Regions from separate parts of the Homo sapiens genome. Here region 2 is linked to region 1. The links are contacts of gene promoters, found by promoter capture Hi-C in blood cells and fetal thymus (Javierre and others, 2016). All regions are on one chromosome and are shown on one strand. The core of a region is centred on a gene start or on the middle of the fragment in contact, and the rest is flanking DNA. Distances in the headings are between cores, read along the strand shown.

The links. The method cuts DNA at HindIII sites, captures the fragments that hold promoters and counts their contacts. A CHiCAGO score of 5 or more calls a contact.
Region 2: a fragment that was not itself captured here is called in contact with the fragment with the promoter of PACSIN2 in region 1 in 3 of 17 cell types (neutrophils, endothelial precursors and monocytes); the score reaches 9.5 in neutrophils.

Annotation. Positions count from the first base shown.
Region 1 is chr22:43,013,129-43,016,953 of GRCh38, reverse strand. It overlaps PACSIN2 (protein kinase C and casein kinase substrate in neurons 2), which reads left to right and starts at 1,805. Exons shown (of 11, transcript NM_001184970.3): 1 at 1,805-1,933. RefSeq lists enhancers at 1,318-1,517, 1,500-2,203 and silencers at 1,638-1,827, 1,838-1,887, 2,008-2,077. The HindIII fragment of the contact is 24,608 bases long and covers 1-3,631 here.
Region 2 is chr22:42,902,581-42,906,244 of GRCh38, reverse strand. All of the region lies in intron 2 of PACSIN2 (protein kinase C and casein kinase substrate in neurons 2), which reads left to right. Among named protein-coding and RNA genes, the nearest start is that of ARFGAP3, 47 kb to the right of the region's middle. RefSeq lists enhancers at 1-319, 1,214-1,734. The HindIII fragment of the contact is 2,027 bases long and covers 1,107-3,133 here.

The DNA.
Region 1 (3,825 bases), core at 556-3,055:
ATGGTCTTGATCTCCTGACCTCGTGATCCGCCCGTCTCGGCCTCCCAAAGTGCTAGGATTACAGGCGTGAGCCACAGCGCCCGACAAGGCTCTATATTTTTATAGGGCATGGAATTGCGATGTAAGCGGAACTTACCCAGATATGAAAGTGCTGAGAGCTGATGGCTGAGTTCTATCTATACAAATGGTCCACAGGTATTGTGGGTGGCAAAGAGGTCCCTGTTGGCTCAGTCCTGGAGAATGAGGAGAGACTTCTTGGCAGTGGTTTGTCCTGGCACTGTGTGTTGGTTTTTTTTTTTTTTTTTTGAGATGGAGTCTCGCACTGTCGCCAGGGCTGGAGTACAGTGGCGTGATCTTGGCTCACTGCAACCTCCGCCTCCCAGGTTCAAGTGATTCTCCTGCCTCAGACTCCCAAGTAGCTGGGATTACAGGTGCATGCCACCACACCCAGCTAATTTTTTGTATTTTTAGCAGAGACAGGCTTTCACTGTGTTGGCCAGGCTGGTCTCAAACTCCTGACCTTGTGATCTGCCCGCCTCGGCCTCCCAGAGTACTGGGATTCCAGGCGTGAGCCACCGTGCCTAGCCGGTTCTTTTGTTTCTTTCTCAATTATTGTCATAAGGACAATGCCACAGAGCAGTCTAGAAAGTAAACAACCACTAGATTTCTTTGTGGACTCTTTTCTCATACCTATCTATATGTAGCAGCAATTCTACAGTTTCTACCATTTTGTATCTAGCTTTTTCTTTTATTATTATTTTCTTTTATTTTACTTTTTAGAGAACTGGGTCTTGCTATGTGGCCCAGGTTGGCCTCAAACTCCTGGGCTGAAGCGATTCTCCTGCCTCGGCGTCCCAAGAAGCTGGGATTCCAGGTGCATGTCACCATGCCTGGCTCTATCTGGCTTTTTCTTTTAACGTTTTAGTTTAAGCATTTTCCCATAGTGCTACACAGTCATCATTATTATTCTCAAGGGTTGGGCTGACCTGGGTTTCTAATCCTGGCTCTGCCATTTACTCTCTTTACTCCACATCACCCCCAGCAAGTTACCTGGCTCACCCCTCACCTGGGGTTCCTCTCACCATCCTCTCCACCTGGATGACATGAAGCAGTGCTTGGACAGCGCGTAGGACAGTGCTCAGGAAGTGCTCTCCATTTTCCTTCAAGAGTATTTCCCTCTGCAGAACGGGGCTAATACCCTATCATGCAAGGTGATTGTGAGAATTGGAAAGAATGCGTGTGCATTGCCTGGTGCCTTGCCATCCAAATATATTTTATTAGAGAGAGCAGCAACATACGCCCCCCCAACCCCCCGTTTAAACTAAGCGGGTCCACGTGGAATGACGCTTTTGGCGCAAGTCGGAGGAGCTCCTAACGACATTAGCTTCTTTGAGTCCCTTGGGAGAGGAAACTTTCTGAAAGACTGTAGGATTACCTTCCCTGAACTTCCGGTCAGGTGCGGTGCTGCCCTGCCGCGCCCTCTTACCCCTGGATGCCGACGAAACCGCAAAACTCCAGCCCCGGGAAGCGCGTCTCAAGGACCACCACCAGCGAGCGGCTTTGGGAGAGTAATCTGCGCCACCCTCGCAGCCCATTAAATAGGCACTCCCCGTTTGATTGACAGGAGAAGTCACCAATGCGCGTCCTGGGGCTTTCCCTCGTCCTCACGCGGGGTGAGCCGCCTCTCTACTCATCTGGCCCAATCGGGGGCGCCGGGGAGGCTGTGGGGCGGGGCTCGGTGTCCGGTAGCCAATGGACAGAGCCCAGCGGGAGCGGCGGGGGCGGTGCGGTCGCGGCTGGCGGCAGAAGCGGCCGCAGGGGTCTGGGCAGGGCTGGGCAGTGCTGCCGGAGCAAAAGCGGTAGCGGGAGCCCGGCCGGAGCTGGGTCTGGAGACGCCGTGGCAGCCTGAACGGAGTGTGCGACGGATTGGGAGGTGAGTGGCCGCCGAGGTCAGGGGTCGCCGCGACGGTTGGGGCGCCGCGGGCGGGACGCGGGGGCGCTGGTCCGCGGCCGGGCCCGCGCCCCGTCAGGGCCGCCGCGCCGAGCTCCGCGCCCTGAGGGAAGCGGGTCGGGCCGCGCGGAACTTCCTGTCTCTGTGGGAGGGGGCGAGTGCTCGGGGCCCCGGGGGGCGCCTGGAGAAGACATCTTGGGGAGGACGAGGGCGAGTGGGGTCGGCTCGGGGAAGGGGCGGGGGCCCATGGGGGCGGCGCTGTGGGAGCGGGGCAGTTTTCCGGGGTCCGGGGCCTGCTGGAGAGGGAAGTGCAGGAGCAGGGCCGTCGGGGGTTAAGAGCTGCTAATGAGTGGGGGAGGTGTAGACAGCTGCAGAAGGGGGAGCTGGGGCGACTTTTGGAGGGACGCGATTTAGGAGAAAGCTGGGAATCCGAGACGTGCAGAGGTTAGGCGAGGGTGCCGGAGCAACGCTGGAGGGAAGGCGTGGCTGGGACGCGCCGGTGAGAGGGCAGGGCTTAGTCCTGGGGTGGCCTGGGGGGCGACGCAGGACACACGCGGGTGCGCTGATTTCGGGCGCTTTGATGAGCGGCCTCCATTTCCTTCCTTCCCACCCTCCGTGTCCCGGGGGGGGGGGGGTGGTGTGTGTGTGTCTGTGTGTGTGTGTGTGTGTGTGTGTGTGTGTAGGGCGGGGGGAGCAAAGCCCTTACCGCAGCACGTCCTAGGGCTGGGGCCAAGCAGGAGAGGCCGGGGAGGTTTGCCCTTGTGACCCTCCTCAGAGTTTCCCCAGACTCACTGAATCAGAAATCCGAACTCCTTACTCCTCTAGGGCTTTCAAGCCTGGCCAGGCATCCTGAGAGGTCCGCAATTGGAGAGGTAGTGATTGCTGCTGCTGTTGAATTTCATTGATTCATTGGGTTTCGGCTCCATCAGAGAAGGTCGATTTTCTTTTCAGAAGGAGTTGGTTGGTCAGGGGAGCAAGCTGTGCTATTGCTTTGGGGCCCACACGGCTGCAGCCTTTGACGTATAACAGGACCTGGGGATGCCACTCTTGGCTTGGGTGCCTGAGGGAAGGTGGCCTTTGGCTGGGTGTGTGCACCATTCCTGGATCCTGTCTTCTCTTTTTCCCTCCGCCTGTCCGGTGTTTTTGTGGTTAAGGGGGTAGGCTGCTCAGAGTCTCCAGGGCTACTTGGTACACTGTTTACCAAATACTGCCTGGCTGTCTTGATGAAAATCAGGAAACCAGCTCAAAGAGTTTGAACCTCAGCTGCAGATGGTGAGCTCACACCTTCTTCCTTCCCTCCTTTTCGGTGCCTTCCTCTGCGGTTATTCCCGTGTGCTGAAGTTCTGTTTTAACCCTCCTGGGATTGCCAGGTTGGAGCCCAGGGCAAGGGAACCGACCAGGCAGGCAGTGTTGAATGCCAGCCCTCCTGTTCTTGCCCAAGATGTTGTCGTTCCACTTGATTCATGAGCCTGCCTGCATGCAGCCTCCTCATGGAGACATTGAAGCTGTGCCAGTGCAACTTGGATCTCTCTTGATTCACCTGGAAAACTTTCACTTGTGTGGACTTAAACTTAATTCTAGAGTTTGGTAGCCTCTTTGGTGAGGTTATGCTGGTTGAGATATGAGGCCACTACATCAAAAACATTGGTGTGTTTTTCTTTTGACAATAGACTTAAAGCTTTAAAGAAAGTGGCCATTAGGCTGGTGATATTTATTACTTGGGAAAGTAACATAACACAGAGAAGTAGATGGGTGATTAGGTCTGCACTCTTTATCCACTTTTTGGGAGAAGAATAACAACTCATTTGAATGGAAATGGTATCCTTAGCTCGTGCTGCTTTGGGACTTGGAACTTTATCACTTTTAATCTCAAA
Region 2 (3,664 bases), core at 871-3,370, 110 kb after region 1:
CTTTGTCCCCCTTGGTCAGTCAGTCAGGCTCATGCCTGGCCTGAGCTTGGGGCTGGGACACAGAGGTGAGTGTGACAGGGACAGTCCCTTGTCCTCTTGGAGCTCACAGGCCAGCAGCAGCACAAGACAGTTCCACAAGTGACTGCCATTTCCCTTGGACAGTTTTCAGCACTGCTGCCATCCCTGTCCATGGCCACTGTCCCCTAGCTTGGCAGGTGTTGCTTGGCTGGTGTTGCCAGGGCCTGGTGCCATGCACAGCACATGGGAGGGACTTACATACTTGAAGGAGTGGGTGGCGGTGGGTGGTCAGGTAGATATGACTGAAGGTCTCACAGGAGCCTCTCCTGCTGTGTTCCAGCAGCTGCAGAATTGGCCTGGTTCCCACAGGCGGCTTCCTGCTTTTAGGGCAAACAGGGCAGGGACCAGCCCTGGCCAGCACCAATCCCTTTTACCCATCCACCCACCAGGAGCACTGCAGGGAGCCAGCCGGGCAGTTTATTTTGGCTGGCTGCTGCAGGCCGTCGAATCTGTCATTTTTGTTTTCAGCTCTTTCATGCCCTTTGGTGTATGACATCTACAACATTGTCTTCGGCCTGCGTGCTCAGCCATTCCCGATACTGGGAAAAATCAAATTCCACTTTCAGTGGAGGAAAAGAAAGCAGAATTTGGGGTGCACCGTCGCAGGTCAGGCTCAGCCAGCAGTGATGGCCTGCTGCTGTTCTGTGATGGGCTGCCCAGGCCAGGGACAGCACTTGCTGGTAGTTGGGCACTGGGCCAGCGGCACCAATGAGCCTGTTGACACCCAGAGTTTATTTTGTCTGAGGTCACAGGACACCTGCATGGCAAGGCCAAGTCTAAATGACTCCCGAGCCCGAGTGGTCTCTGAGCGTCCTCTCTACACTTACCGTTTCTGCAGCCACACGCGGGAGCATCGCACACGCGGAGACAGGAAAAGGTGGATGAATGAGGTCACCTTTCCTTCTGTTGTGCAGACAGACCTGTCTTCCCCCCGTGTGAATGCCATCATTCTGAATGCAGAGAAAGAGTTCTTTGGTTTTTGCGTTGAGGGAATTTAGCACTTCGGGGTTTTGTGCTGTCAAGAAGCTTGTCTTCTGAAGATAAAATTTTTTAAATTTTTTTTGTGCATTTCTGTAGATGAAGATAAAATTTTATTTTCTTATTTGATCTCAGTGATGTCAGAATAACTTTTTAAAACTGTTTAAGAGACACATTTTTCCTTTCTATTCAGTAACAAATCTCCTTTCATTTTAGAGCCGGTGGGGTCCGTAGTGCTCATTAGACTGTGGTGGGCTTAGCTCCATGGAGACATTTGTGGATAAACGATTGTTTGAGCTGGGCACAGTGCAGGGGGGCGGAGCTGGGGTGCCCAGGCACAGAGATGGGGAGAGGAGCCCACATTCCACTAGTGGGGACTGGTAGGGTAACAGGAGTCATAAAGTAAACCAGGATTCGGGTGCAGGGGGCTAGGGCCAGGGTGGAGGTAGACTGGAGTGCAGTATGGGGGGGCTGTGGAAGCACCAAACTGGGAAGAGGAGGGAACGGAAGGAGGTGGGGAGGCTTCCTGGAAGAATTGATCCTCCAGCTTTTCCCAGCTGGCGTTTCCCCACTAGATCATCGGCTTTGGACCTTAGGGGTCGAGCCAGTTTTGGATGTCTCTCACACTCCCTGTCAGTCAGGGGGTGCCTTGGGAATTCTGCCAAAAGCCTCAGGTCTTCAGCGAGCTTAGGGACCGGGCAGGTGATCTCGCCATGGCAGCTCTTCCAGCAAGGTGATGCCTGCATCAGTGGGGGCGCCTCCCTGAGGAGTGAGGGAGAGCAAAAACGGCAGCCACATACCAAATTCCTGCCACTTGCTGGGTGCTCGGCTGAAGGCAAGTGAGCAGTGCATGTCTTCCCAGAGACCCAGGGCTCCAGGATGGGAGATGGCACACAGGGCGGCATATGCTGTGCATGTGAACGCCATGTAGGGTGTCGCGGGGCCTTCTCGACATCTGTGTAACACGCACCAAGGGAGCAGAGCATGGGGAGCCTGGCCGACGGCCTTGAGGAAGAGTTAGTTCAACACAGCTTTGCGTAAACACATCCTTTCTTTCTATGTTGTCTATCTTATGTGTTCTGCCTTTGGAGTTAGGATCTGAAAATTGCAATTTCTGGGTTTCTGTGTCATCTATTTTTTATTTTGTCATTTTGAACATTTCAGTTAAAGATTCGTAACTCAGTGTGTCTTTATGATTGTTGAAATCTGGGATTCATGCTTTTAAATGATCAAACGGCAAGGGGTGCTTTCAGGGTAGTGAGCTCCATTTTCTTCACCTTCGTACTTGAGGATACAGGTTTCAGGAACAGAGGATACGGCCAGTCAGTGTTGGGAGCAAGAACTGAAAACCCCAAGTTGAGACAGAATTGAGGCCCCGAGGAAAGGACAGGACTAGTGCTGGGTCAGAATCGAGTCTGGATTGTAGATCAGACTCAAGGCGATTCTGAATCTCTAACCCTCTTGGGCCCTGCAAGGTAAATAGCATCACCTCATTTGCAGATGGCGAGCCCCAGTGAGGTTAGGTGTTAGTCTGAGCTTGTGGTTCAAGGCAGCACCGAAGTGTGGAACTCCCAGGGCCTACATTCCAGGGCTGAGACAAGTTGGGAGCCCAGTGGTGGATGAGCTGGTGGGAAGTTTGGGGACCAGGACGAGTGGAATCCCATAGAAATGAGGATGTGGAAATTGCAGTTTGGCACCTGAAAGCAAGGCACGGACTAGATGGTTTTTCAAGGACCCCTGTTACTCTTTGGTGTTTTCAAACACACATCACAGATTTCACAACCCTAATATCAACAGTCATCCCCGTTTGGAAAGGAAGATTCAGCATAGGGGTTAGGATAGGTTGGAAGAAAGTTGCCTGAAGCTGTCACCATGGGGACATCTGGCAGGTGTGTACAGGATACAACATCTGCCAGGCACACGCACACCCTCCCCAGGGAAGGTGGGTGAGAGGTAGTGACTCTGCAGGGCACAGTCCTGAGGAGAAGGGACTCAGTCCTGGAGCCCCCTCTAGCTGCCTGGGACGTGGGTTGGCTTAGGGATAAACTAACTCAGGCCCTGGATTTCCCTGAAAGCTTTGTAGCTGCAGTGAAGGCCCGGTGAGGCCCTGCAGCTGGCTGTGCTTATGTGACTCTCTCAGGAATGCGGCAGAAGCGCCGGGAGTTGCTCTTCTGCCGGCCATGAAGTTACTGGCTGATGACGTGCTAAGAGTTGATTCCTTTTAGCTACCATGGAGAGAGCTCGTGTGACTCGCAGGATTGAGAACTGATAAATAGGCCGGGCGCGGTGGCTCACACCTGTATTCCCAACACTTTGGGAGGCTGAGGTGGGTGGATCACTTGAGGTCAGGAGTTCAAGACCAGCCTGGCCAACATGGCGAAGCCCTGTCTCTACTAAAAATACAAAAATTAGCCAGGCGTGGTGGTGCATGTCTGTAATCCCAGCTACTTGGGAGGCTGAGGCAGGAGAATCGCTTGAACCCAGGAGGCAGAGGTTGTGGTGAGCCGAGATCATGCCACTGCTGAGATGCACCACTGTCCAGCCTGGAAGACAGAGCGAGACTCCATCTCAAAAAAAAAAGAACTGACAGATAAAGGATCATGAGTTG